3 separate regions of the Homo sapiens genome follow, and all the other regions are linked to region 2. The links are contacts of gene promoters, found by promoter capture Hi-C in human tissues and cell types (Jung and others, 2019). All regions are on one chromosome and are shown on one strand. The core of a region is centred on a gene start or on the middle of the fragment in contact, and the rest is flanking DNA. Distances in the headings are between cores, read along the strand shown.

Evidence for each region. Contacts are between HindIII fragments. The study calls those that stand out against the background at their distance.
Region 1: a fragment that was not itself captured here is called in contact with the fragment with the promoter of CTBP1 in region 2 in 1 of the 25 tissues and cell types used here (dorsolateral prefrontal cortex).
Region 3: a contact is called between the fragment with the promoter of ZNF141 here and the fragment with the promoter of CTBP1 in region 2, in 1 of the 25 tissues and cell types used here (lymphoblastoid cells).

The regions. Positions count from the first base shown.
Region 1 is chr4:1,912,935-1,916,897 of GRCh38, forward strand. It overlaps NSD2 (nuclear receptor binding SET domain protein 2), which reads left to right. Exons shown (of 22, transcript NM_001042424.3): 4 at 3,937-3,963. Among named protein-coding and RNA genes, the nearest start is that of NSD2, 44 kb to the left of the region's middle. The HindIII fragment of the contact is 3,229 bases long and covers 1,028-3,963 here.
Region 2 is chr4:1,246,498-1,250,379 of GRCh38, forward strand. CTBP1 (C-terminal binding protein 1) reads right to left here and starts at 2,633. Exons shown (of 10, transcript NM_001012614.2): 1 at 2,419-2,633. CTBP1-DT (CTBP1 divergent transcript) reads left to right here and starts at 2,943. Exons shown (of 2, transcript NR_033339.1): 1 at 2,943-2,975; 2 at 3,614-3,882. RefSeq lists silencers at 1,522-2,241, 2,412-3,341 and enhancers at 3,712-3,761, 3,822-3,882. The HindIII fragment of the contact is 11,440 bases long and covers 1-3,882 here.
Region 3 is chr4:335,744-339,660 of GRCh38, forward strand. ZNF141 (zinc finger protein 141) reads left to right here and starts at 2,071. Exons shown (of 4, transcript NM_003441.4): 1 at 2,071-2,243. The coding sequence starts at 2,241. RefSeq lists silencers at 781-840, 1,071-1,180 and enhancers at 1,195-1,710, 1,816-2,776, 1,821-1,920. The HindIII fragment of the contact is 20,671 bases long and covers 1-3,917 here.

The DNA.
Region 1 (3,963 bases), core at 1,392-3,891, 670 kb after region 2:
GACTGAAGGCACAGGCTGTTCCAGTATAATAAAGAAAATACTTAAAATAAGAATAGTTATATTAGACATAGAATATAGACATGATTATATATGAATATTATTAATCATTAGTTTGTAGCATTACTCTTTATTCAAATATTATAACAATCTCTGTTCTACAATTATAACCTAGGAAAAACCAGGTCATACAGAGATAGGAGCTGAAGGGACACGGTGAGAAGTGACCAGAAGACGAGTGTGAGCCCTCTGTCACGCCCAGACAGGGCCACTAGAGGGCTCCTTGGACTAGCGGTAACGCCAGTGCCTGGGAAGGCACCTGTTACTTAGCCGACCTTGGTCTAGCGGTAGCGCCAGTGCCTGAGAAGGCACCCGTTACTTTGCAAACCAGGAAAGGGAGTCTCCCTTTCCGTGGGGGAGTTAGAGAAGACTCTGCTCCACCACCTCTTGTGGAAGGCCTGACATCAGTCAAGCCCACCCGCAGCCATCCAGAGGCCTAACCGTCTCCCTGTGATGCTGTGCTTCAGCGGTCACGCTCCTGGTCCACTTTCATGTTCCGCCCTGTACATCTGGCTCCGCCTTCTAGATAGCAATAGCAGAATTGGTGAGAATATTAAAGTCTTTGATCTCTCTGAGAAATGCATAGAAGAAATAATGTAAGCTGTCCCCTCTCTCTCTCTGCCTCGGCTACCAAACAGGGAAGGGCCCCCTGTCTGGTGGACACATGACTCGCTTGACCTTACCTATCATTGGAGATGACTCACACTCCTTACCCTGCCCCCTTGCCTTGTATACAATAAATAACAGCGCAGCCAGACATTCAGGGCCACTACCAGTCTCCGCATCTTGGTGGTAGTGGTGTCCCCTGTGCCCAGCTGTCTTTTCTTCAATCTCTTTGTCTTGTGTCTTTATTTCTACCATCTCTCGTCTCCACACACGAGGAGAAAAACCCACAGGCCCTGTAGGGCTGATCCCTACAGTTCTATGCTGTGTTCTTTCTTGGTTAAGTTTTCTTTTTTCCTGGAGGCTATTTTTGGTATCTTAAGACAGTTTGTATGGGAAGTAAATTTGAGTCCTTGCAGTTCAGAGTATGCTACTTTTGTTTTTGTGAGGTGGAGTCTTGCTTTGTCGCCCAGGCTAGAGTTCAGTGGCGGGATCTCAGCTTGCTGCAACCTCTGCCACTTGGGTTCAAGTGATTCTCGTGCCTCAGCCTCCCGAGTAGCTGGGACTACAGGTGTGTGCCACCGTGCCCAGCTCATTTTTGTATTTTTAGTAGAGATGGGGTTTTGCTATGTCGGCCAGGCTGGTCTCGAACTTCTGACCTCAAGTATTCTACCCGCCTTGGCCTCCTAAAGTGCTGAGATTACATGTGTGAGCCACTGCACCCAGCCCAGAGTATGCTACTTTTTTTTTGAGATGGAGCCTTGCTCTGTTGCCAGGCTGGAGTGCGGTGGCACGATCTTGGCTTATTGCAGTCTCCACCTCCTGGGTTCAAGTGATTCTCCCGCCTCAGCCTCCTGAGTAGCTGGGACTACGGGCACACGCCACCATGCCTGACTAATTTTTTGTGTTTTAGTAGAGACAGGGCTTCACCATGTTGGCCAGGCTGGTCTCGAACTCTTGATCTGAGGTGATCTGCCCACCTTGGCCTCCCGAAGTGCTGGGATTACAGGCGTGAGCCACTGTGCCTGGCCCAGAGTATGCTACTTTTCTATCTTCACACTTGATTGATGGTTTGACTGGGTGTAGAATTTTATGTTGAGAAGAATTCCCCTAGGAATTTTGAAGGTATTACTCCATTTCCTTCTAGCATCCAGAGTTTTTGGCCATTCTTCACATAATTTGCTATTCTTCACATACCTTGCTATTCTATTTCTTGTTCCATTAACTTGGAGGCTGGCCTTTCACCCAACCCCCAGCAGCTTGAATTTCAGCAGGGTGTGCCCTGCTGTGGATGTTGCAGTGGGACACTTAGGACTGTTTTAGTTGGAGACTTGATTTTGGGTTTATTCTTGGAGCTTCTCTGTTTCTCCAGAAAGCCTATTATTTGGGTATCAAACCTCCTAGATTGATCTTACAGGTTGCTATGGAAATAGGTATTTTTCATCTTAATTTTTTTCTTCTTTCTGGGAGATTTCTTATCTTCCAAGCTTTCTTGTTGAATTTTTTCTTTTTTTCTCTTTTTTTTTTTTTTTTTTTTTTGAGACGGAGTCTGGCTCTGTTGCCCAGGCTGGAGTGCAGTGGCGCAGTCTCGGCTCACTGCAAGCTCCGCCTCCTGGGTTCACACCATTCTCCTGCCTCAGCCTCCTGTGTAGCTGAGGCTACAGGCGCCCACCACCATGCCTGGCTAATTTTTGTATATTTAGTAGAAATGGGATTTCACCGTGTTAGCCAGGATGGTCTCGATTTCCTGACCTCGTGGTCCGCCTGCCTCGGCCTCCCAAAGTGCTGGGATTACAGGCTTGAGCCACTGCACCCGGCCTGAATTTTATTTTCATAGTTGTATTTTAGAATTTCAAATATCTCTTTGTTTTTCTGTGTTCTCTTTTCATAGCACACAGGGTTTCTCTGTTGGGTATCTTCTCTTCCCTTGCCTTATGTCTGTGGCCCTGCAGAGGGCCATTCATTTCTGTGTGTTTTGGATTCATTCATACTGGATGCTTCCCTGGGTCCAGGGGTTCCTTGGTGCTGGGCTCGTGTTTAAGAGCACGACACTTAGAGCTGCCTGCAACCATGGGTGGGGAGGCTTGGTTATCCACCCTCCTTTGCATTAGAGGGTCTGATTGGCCATTGACCACTTAATTGGGGGAATCTCCAGAAGACTCACTGGAGAGGTTTTTCCTCTGGAGCACTTCAGGTCTTCAGGAAATATCCTTTGATTCATCTGGGCCAGTGTTCTGCATGAGGGGACAGGGAGTGGTAACTGCCCCCACCCTGTGCCAGGGAGATCCCCCTCCCTCCTCTCACCTGGCACAGAGATCTGACCTTTTAACCTGCTTACCTGTATTCACCTTCTCATTTGACTTCAGTGGAATCTGGTACCTCCTTTCTTTTATTTTGGGCCCGTCTCTTTCTTTCCTCATCCCCCTGGCTGCACTGTGGGACGTGGCTTCTTCCTCTCAGCTAAGAGTAAGACTAGTGGGCATCTGTGGGGTTACTCTGTGGTCTGAGCTGCTCTCTGAGGCCACTGATGCTCCTGTCACTCTAGCACTGTGAGATAGGGGGGTAGCTAGCTGGTAGGTAGCAGGGCTGGGATTTGAACCCAGGTTGTGTGATGTCCGTATACTGCCTCCTTCACTGCCTCTCTCACTCCTTTCTTGCACATGTCCTCTTGTCTTATTTGGTATCTTTTTAAGAGGGAATAAAGGAGTGCATTTAGTCAGCTAGCTAGCTTTTTTCTTTTTCTTTTTTTTCCTTTCTTTTTTTGTTTTTGAGACAGGGTCTAGCTCTGTCACCCAGGCTGGAGAGCAGTGGTATGATCTTGGCTCACTGCAACATGTGCCTCCCAGGCTCACGCCATCCTCTCACCTCAGCCTCCAGAGTAGCTGGGACTACAGGTGCACACCACCACACCCGGCTAATTTTTGCATTTTTCGTAGAGATGGGCTTTTGCCATGTTGCCCAGGCTGGTCTCGAAATCCTGAGCTCAATCTCCCTGCCTCGGCCTCCCAAAGTGGTGGGATTACAGGCGTGAGGGACTGCGCCTGGCCTGGTTGGCTTTCTTTCCCATTCAATTTTGAACCTTATCTGAGTCTCTTGTAAGTTAATTAGTTTCCCTCTTTGGCATGTGGCATGGAAGGGATAAGAAGTATAGAATTTGTTTTGAGGTTAACAGGCTCAGACAACACCAAGGGAAACAACTGCAAAATAGCAGTAGATTTGACTAGTTTCATCCCAGATTCTAACTTTCATTCTCTAACATTTTATTTTAAAAACTAGGTCAGAAAAAGAGTGCACGCCAGTATC
Region 2 (3,882 bases), core at 1,383-3,882:
ACACACCTTTGACTTGGGCACTGCATGGGGAGCACCAGGGCACAGCCGGGCACAAAGTGCTGCCTGAAGAGTTCTCAGCAACACTAGTGGTGCCAGCCACACGCCTCTTGGCTCAGTGACACCACCGTCAGCTCAGACCAGGTCACATTCTGGGGGTACTGGCCGCAGGAAGTTGAGAGGGCAAGTGACAGTCAGAGGAGAAAAACCAGAAAAACTGCCAGGCTGGTGGGGAACCAGGTGTGGCTTGACGGCCACCTCTAAGCCCCGAGGGAAGAGACTGGGCCTCTCGAGCCTGGGGCCCGTTTCCTGGAGAGCATGACTACTTCTGTCCAGGGTTCCTCCAGAAAAAATTTATTAACAGAATGATGGTTAACAGTTGCTGTCTGCTTACACTACAAATGTCCAAAGAGTGGGGGGCTCCCAGCCCTTGGGGGAGGCAGACAGGACGAGCCAGCACTTCCAATCCCACCAGGACATGGCAGGGGGCCGGCTCTGCGCCAAGCCCACAGGACTGGACCAAGGCTCGTCCCACTCATCAGAGGGACAGGACCAGCCCACAGTCCTGTGCACCCCGGGCCAAGCCTCTCCTCCCCCACTGCCACGTTCTCAGGTTAATGACAAGCGAGTAAAAGGGAAGATCCTACTCGCTGACATCCCCAACCACACGCCCACCTCTCAGAACTAACAGCTGCCCTGGTCAAGGCTGACAGGAAGAAGTGCATGTTGGGGACATGGCAGACACCCCAAAAATGGCCGGGCAGGCGGACGAGGCACCCCCAGGAGTGACCAGATGCCACCCCCAGTGCGTGTCCCTCCCAGAGCTCTGCAGAGGACGCCTGTATGGAAGCAGGTGCTCAAAGATGGGCAACAGAATCACAGAGAGCAAAAGGCGTCTGCGGAGCCGACAGCCCCAACCAGGAGCCAAACCCAGACCCCAGAGGGAGGTGGCCAGGCCCGGGCAGGCAGGGGAGACCTGGGAGGCCGGGTGCTGAGGCCCAGGGCAGAGCCACGCCCTACAAAGTTCCAGGACACAGAAAGGGGGACCCCCAAACCGCAGCTGTCATCCTCAGCTGCAACGGCAAATAGTTACCCCACGGTTCTCCCCCAACCCTGCCCCAAGCTGCAGACGGGTACACAGACGCGCAAAGGCCACGCGCTAGGAGCTCAGCGAGGACGGCCGCGGTGCGGGCCCAGCCGCCAGCGCCGTTTTCTTCCCGAGGGACGTGTGCTCCCTGCCGCGCTCCTACAGAAACGGTGGAGAGGCCGGGGAGGGGGGGGGGGCTCGGGCTCAACGGAACACCCTGCGCACCCGCCGCCTCGGCCCTAGCTCCAGGCCCTCTTGCCCCAACTCTCAGGGTTTCACCTCCCCACTCAGGGCACCGGGAAGGGCGCGACCGCCTTCCCTTTTCCCCACTGGAAGGGAATTCTGTCCCGGCAATCACGGAGACGACAGCAAAAGGGATCTGGCCCAGGCCGGGCTTCCAGACACCGGCGCCCTTGGAGGCCGCCAGAGAACGCTCCAGTCTCGGCCCGGGGCTCAGGCGCACGGACTCTGCCTTTGCAGCCGGGTCGAGGGAAAGAGAGGCTCCGCGCAGCGGCTCGGGCCGGCCCAGGACGCGGGCGCTGCAAGATGGCGATGGTGGCAAGCCCGGCGCCCGCCCGTGCTCCCTGCTTCCGCGGCCGCAGCCCGCGAGGAAGGCGCCCCGGGACCTGGGCGGGCCCAGGCAAGGGCAGGTGGGGGCGCTGGGCCGGTCCGGGACCTCGCGGAGTTCGCGGGAACGGAGACCCCGGGCCCTCCCGCGTCACCGCCGGGGGCTGCGCTTTGGGCCCGGTCTGAGGGCAGCGGCCTCCTCCACGGTCATACCCGGCACCCGCGCCCCGTCCCCTTCCCCCACAGCGCGCGGCCACGGTCGCCGGCGGCCTCCCCGCGGGAGGCGCGCTCCCGCGAGTGGCCCGGGAGCGCGCGCCCCAGGACACCCCGAGCTGCGCACGGCTCCCGCCCCATCCCGGCCCCGCAGGCCCAGCCACGGGGTCATGACCGGGGACGGGGTAGCGGCCGGGGATCGGGACCCGGGGTGCCGTCCCGGGTCCGACGGGGCTGGGGTCGGTGGAGCTGGGGGTCCGGCGGGGCAGCCCAGAGGCCCACAGGCCCTTTTGTGTCACCTGCACGGGCCGCGGGCGGGGAGAGCAGACTGCGGCGCTCGCGCACACGCAGCGGCCCGCGCATGCGCAAGACCCTTCCCGCGGTCCCGCCCCCGACCGCGGCCACGCGCGGACGCCGGCGCGCACGCGCACTCGCACACAAAGCCGGCGGCCCGCGGGCGCGCGCTCGGTCCGCCCCCGCGCCCCCCGCCCGCGCGGCACCCGCCCCGCCCCGCCCCCGCCCGCGGCCGGAAACGCGCGCGCGCGCGGCCTTACCAAGCGGCAGGCCCTTGTTGAGCAAGTGCGAGCTGCCCATCGAGAGGCGCGAGCGGCCGCGGGCCCCGACCACTCCGGCGCGCTGCGCCGCCGCGAGCCCGGCGCGTGGGGCGGCCTCGGCGCCGTCCGCTGCTCCGCCCGCCCGCCTGCGCCTGGCCGCCGCCGTGCCGAGTCTCCGCCGCGCCGCTGAGCCGCGCTCCGACGACCGCGCGGGCGGGGACACGGCGGCGCGCGCGGGCGGGGCCTCGCGGTTGGTCTCCTGGTTCCCAGCGCGGGCGGCGCACGGACTCACGCGGGCGGCTCAGGGCCCGCCCGGCCGGGACGCGGCTGCGGGGCGGGGCGGGGCGGGAGCCTGGCGGGAAGCTCGCGGGGCTGCAGCCCGGCGGAGGCCCCGGGCCTGGTGTTCCGCACGTTCTAAACCGCCTGTCCCCGAGGAAGTCGGGCAGGGTCGGGCCGGACTCAGCGCCGCTGGCGGGAGCGCCGTCCGCCCCGAGGACCCTGCGGGCCCGGAAGCCGAGACAGGGCCGCCCACGTCAGCGCCTGGCGCGGGCCCGAACGTAAATGGCGCTCCTCCGCGCCGCAGCCGCAGCCGCCCCGCTCCCTTCCCGCTCCGCCAGCTGCCGCCCTCCCGCGCTCGCTTCTCGCCCCGCGGCCTGGCCCGTGCGCCTCCGAGGCTGGCCAGGGGCACCGAGGCCGCGGGCCCCCCATCGCCCCCACCCGAGCCCTGATTTACCGTCCGAGAGCCGGCGGCACATGGGACCCCGAGAGGAGAAGCGCGCCTGCCCCAGTGCGTCCCCAGGCGGGGGAGCCCCGACTCCTGGAGGGACCGCGTCCTGCCCGGCCCGGGAAGTTCAGGGCTGGAGAACCCCTTCCCCGACCCCATTTCTCTTTTAACAAGAGTAGGGTTTGTAGCTAACCAACGTCCTGACAGCTCAGCTCTGCTTTCCCTTTAAGCATTAATATCAAAGCCCTGCCTGCTACCGGTGAAGCCCCGACCCGGGAGGGCCCGAAAGTCCCTTCAGGGAGAGGCCGCACTGGGCCTGCTCACCCAGGGGCTGCCCCTGCAGACTCTCCCGAGGGGCCCAGGGATATTCCTCGCGCCGCGAGTGGACGCTTCCATCCACCCCATGGGGAGGGCCTCTGCGCGTGGCTACTCTGAGCCCTCTGGAATGCCGAGATAGTTGCATAATTTCAGAAACCACGGCATGGAGACGGAATGATGCAGACTCCTATCCGCGAGATACCTGCTGTAATTTCGCTGTGGTTCGTGAGGACGCGTCCTGGGCTGCCCTGAGAAGCCTACGTCTCCCCTTCGAGGCCCGGGAAGACCTCCAACCCCGCTGACAATGCTGGGCCCTCAGCCAGACCTGCCCTGCGTGCCACGTTCTGTTCTAAGATCGGGCTGCCGAGCTGTGGCCTGGAGGAAACCTGGCAGGTGTCACCAGAGCTTTGGGGAGGGTGAGG
Region 3 (3,917 bases), core at 821-3,320, 910 kb before region 2:
GATTTGACATCACCTTATTTGCCTACTATAGGGATGAACTAGGTGGTCAAGTGGCCGTATTATTTCACTGTATTAATACAAATACACCTTCCAGCCCTGGGAAGCAGCATACAATTGCCAAGAGACGTTAGAATGCTGCTGGAGGATTCCAGGGTCTCACAGTCTGGATTTTAGAGTCCTGAATTTTAGACTTTTCAAGGACATGTGCTCCTCTGGGGTTCAGGCATAATAGACTATATTTACCGATGGTGACTGTGTGCATGACGCCATAACATGTTACACTATTAACTCACTTAAGGGACTCCATGAGGCAGGTACTGCTATCTTCACTTTACAGAGGACACTGAGCACAGGCAAGTAACTTCCCCATGGTCACACAGCTGGAAATAGCAGAGCAGCTGGGATGTGCACCCAGAGTCTGTGTACTTAGCCACAGTGCAATCCTGCATAACTACAAAACAAACTTATGTGTGTGAGCATCTATCCGCCCAAGCAGACAAGTGTCAAACTACGCGAATGCTGTCCAAGCACTGCGTGAGCATACACTTCTCTGAAAGCGTTCTGCTCATCAACAGGGCCAGCCAGTGACTTTTCTGATCGCTTAATGCACCTATCCAGTCTCTTCACAGGCGGCTCCTGGGGTCTGCCGGGGGTGCTGGCGTCGGGTTGGCCCTGGCGCTGTCCCCAGCCCCCACTCCCCAGGCCCTGCAGCGCCATGAGGTCGGACTCCTGGGCGTGTCCTGGGTTCTGACCCACCCGCGACGCCAGCTGCCCGCGCCCGGAGCGGATGGGCCTGGCCCGGCTCCACCCCGCGGGGCTCCGCGGCTCAACGGGTCGCCCAGGGGCGCGGGCCCGGCTTCGTCCTCGACGGTGTCCGCCCCGGCCCTGGCTAGGCCGACGGCAGCCGGGTCCGGGTGGGGCTCGGGCTCGGGGCGCGCCCCTCCCATCTCTCCAGGGTCCGCGTCCTCGCTGCCGCCAGGTCCCGCCGAGATCCCCGGTGGCCCCGGCTCCAGCGGCTGCAGCGTCGCCATCGCCGGGCAGACCCCGGCCGACCTCAAAGCGACCGCGCGGTGGGGCCGGCGGGGACTGGGGCTGCGCAGCGCGGCCTGGGGTGGGGGCGGCGGGGCCCCCAGGAGCTCCTGGGAACCGAGGGTCCTGGGGCGGTCCCGCCCCGCACAGCTCCGGGTGAGCTTGGGGAGGGAGACACACTCTCAGCCCACCTCGCCCCGCCCGACAGCGCTCCGAGTCCTGAGTCCCCTCACCCCCATTCTACAGACACGAAGGTGAAGCCAAAGACGGGACGCTCACTTCCTGAGAATTTGCTGCCTGCTGCGTGGACACCACCGACCTATTGTTTACAGCGGTCAGGGACCCGCCCCCCAGACCCCCAGGACCGCGCTTCCGGGGGAGGAGGGTGTCCTCAGCAACGGTGACCCGCACCAAAGCCCTCCTCACCGGGGTCACCGCCACAGCCGGTGCGAGGCCCGCAGGGCGCTGGGGATGCGCGACCGACTCCCGTGAACCTGCTCCTCGCGCGTCAGGGAGAGCTGTGCACCCAACTAGGCTCTGTGAGGACGGACTGAGGTCGGCCTGCAGGCTGCGGCCCCGAAGGCAGGATTTGTGGAGAGATGATTCGCGAGCCTTGGAGGAAGGATGGGCTGTGCGTGCGTGGGTGCGTGCGTGTGTGTGTGTGTGTGTCTGTGACTTTTGTATGTTTATGTGAGACTGCGTACGTGCGCGCGTCTGTGTGTGCGCGCGCGCGTATATGTCTGTGTGTGTGCGTGCGTGTATAATTTCTAAATGGACGTCACCTTACACATCACAAGGTTAAAAAATGACCCCTGGGCTGTGCCAGGCCAAGCACGAAGAGAAAGCCCCGCCTGAAACTGCCTGGAGGCCCCCCGGCTGTCACTCTCGCCACATTCCGTGGAGTATGTGGTTGCAACTTCTGTCACTCAAGGTCTGATGGCGGGGAGATTGGAGCCGTATCCAATCAGCGCACTGGAGTGAAAACTGCCCAATCAGGCACGCAGCCAGAGAGGAGGCGGTGGCTTCCGGGATGTGGCGCGGGTCTTTGCGTCTGGCTACTACCAGACCGCGGGTTAGGGGCTTCATCTCTCTGCGTTCTCAGTTGTGGGAGGCCTTGGTGATTCGGCCACAGCTCAGCCTCCGTCGCTCTGTGACCTGCGGGTATTGGATGATTGGTAGCTAAGACTCCCGAATACTTCAGAAGTGGGGAAATGGTGAGTGTGCGGGGCAGGGCGTCCCAAGGCTGAGGAGGTCTCATCGGAGCTGGCGGGAAATGGCGGCGGGACCGAGTCTGCGAACGGAGTCCCCGCTGCCGCCGCTCAGCCCTGGGGCCTCAGTACCCTCCGGTGAGGGACCTGGGCTCCTGTCGGTCCCCGCACAGCGGCTCTGGCCCAGCCTGCAGCCCTCCTTGTGCAGCTCTGCGCCCGCAGCCCCGCACCTTCCCCAGGCTGTGGGGTGAGGAGTAGCTTATCTGGAAGCCGCCCGCGCGGCGTGCGCGATGCCGGCGTGGGAGGAGCTGTGGGAGAAGCTGTGGTCTGGGGATCCCGTCCCTGCTTTACCCTGTTCGGAATGAGATCGAGGCCCCATCAAAACAGAGTTCATGTGAGCAAATGGGGACTCATTAATGGGACAGCGCCGGCCGTGGCTCGTGGTTTGGGGGCTGCCAGCGGGTCTTGAAGGAAAAGCTTTTGTGAGGTGTGTGAGGAAGCGAAGCAAATCACCCGCCCGCTCCAACTTGCCCACCAGTCTCCTTGCCCTGTGCGCCTCCTCCGCGTGGCTGTTCCTGAGTGGCATCTTTTAGAATACGCTAGTGTGGGCGCGCACAGCGCTTCGCTGAGTTCTGTGAGTAGTTCTGTCATATTATTGAACTTGAGGAGGGTGTGGGCCCCTGGTTTGTAGACAGGTGTTCAGAAATGAAGACGGGTGTCCAGAGGCAGGGACTGGCGTCTGCAGGGGGGCAGCTGCGGGAAGAGCGCTGAGCTTGTGGGGTCTGTGCTGACTCCGGGTGGTGTCGTTAGTGAGTTGTTGGACAGCCCGTTGGGGTCGGAGCATTGACTGGTGTTGAGCAAACTCCTCACGTTTCCTGTCAGAAGAAAGACATGGCTGAGCCTGGGCTGGAGGGAGTCGCAGGTGTCCGCGGGAGACCAGCCGGGTTCTGCACATGCACTGTCCTGCTGCGCACTGTTCTGTTCCTCCAGGTCTCCTCCCGGGGAGAGAGGGCGCTGAGAACTTGGAGGAAAGGAGTTCTGAGAAACATCCCTTCCCTGCACCCTGCTGCCAGCCCCCACCCAATGCTAACCCACTCCTGAGCCCGCCCATTGGGCATTCGCACGGCCACACTTGTCCCAGGACAGGGTTCTACCCTCAGGAATTGTGCCCATGGCAGCTTTGCTCCTAGGTTTTTCTCCCAAGAACACACACAGTGCCCAGAAGACTCCTGGTTCATTTTAACCCCAGATCTGTAGCAGGAATCTGTTTTCTTCACCCACCCAGGCTTTTGGACCACCTGATCCTAATCTCCTCTGCCTTTATGGGCTCAGGAATCAGTTAGAGCTTAGCCCTGCCTGGGCCTGAACTTGTAGCACAAACCAGTCCTTTCGTCAATCCTGCCTTGCCCCCACTCAAGGCTCTTGATAGCACCTTTCTTCTGCTCTTTTCTTCCCCACAAATCCTCTTTCCTGTGCACACAGTTTGCTCAAGTGCATCCCTCATGTGCTACAAGAATTCAACGTTAGTGAGTTCAAGACCATGCCTTTAGACCTGCCTGTTGTAGGACCAAATACAAATCAGAAGAGGCTTAATGCTTTCTCTTTAGAATGAGGAAAGAATTTTTACTCTTCTCCCTTAAAGCATTTAGTTTGAAAACTTTTATATTTAAATATTTTCTC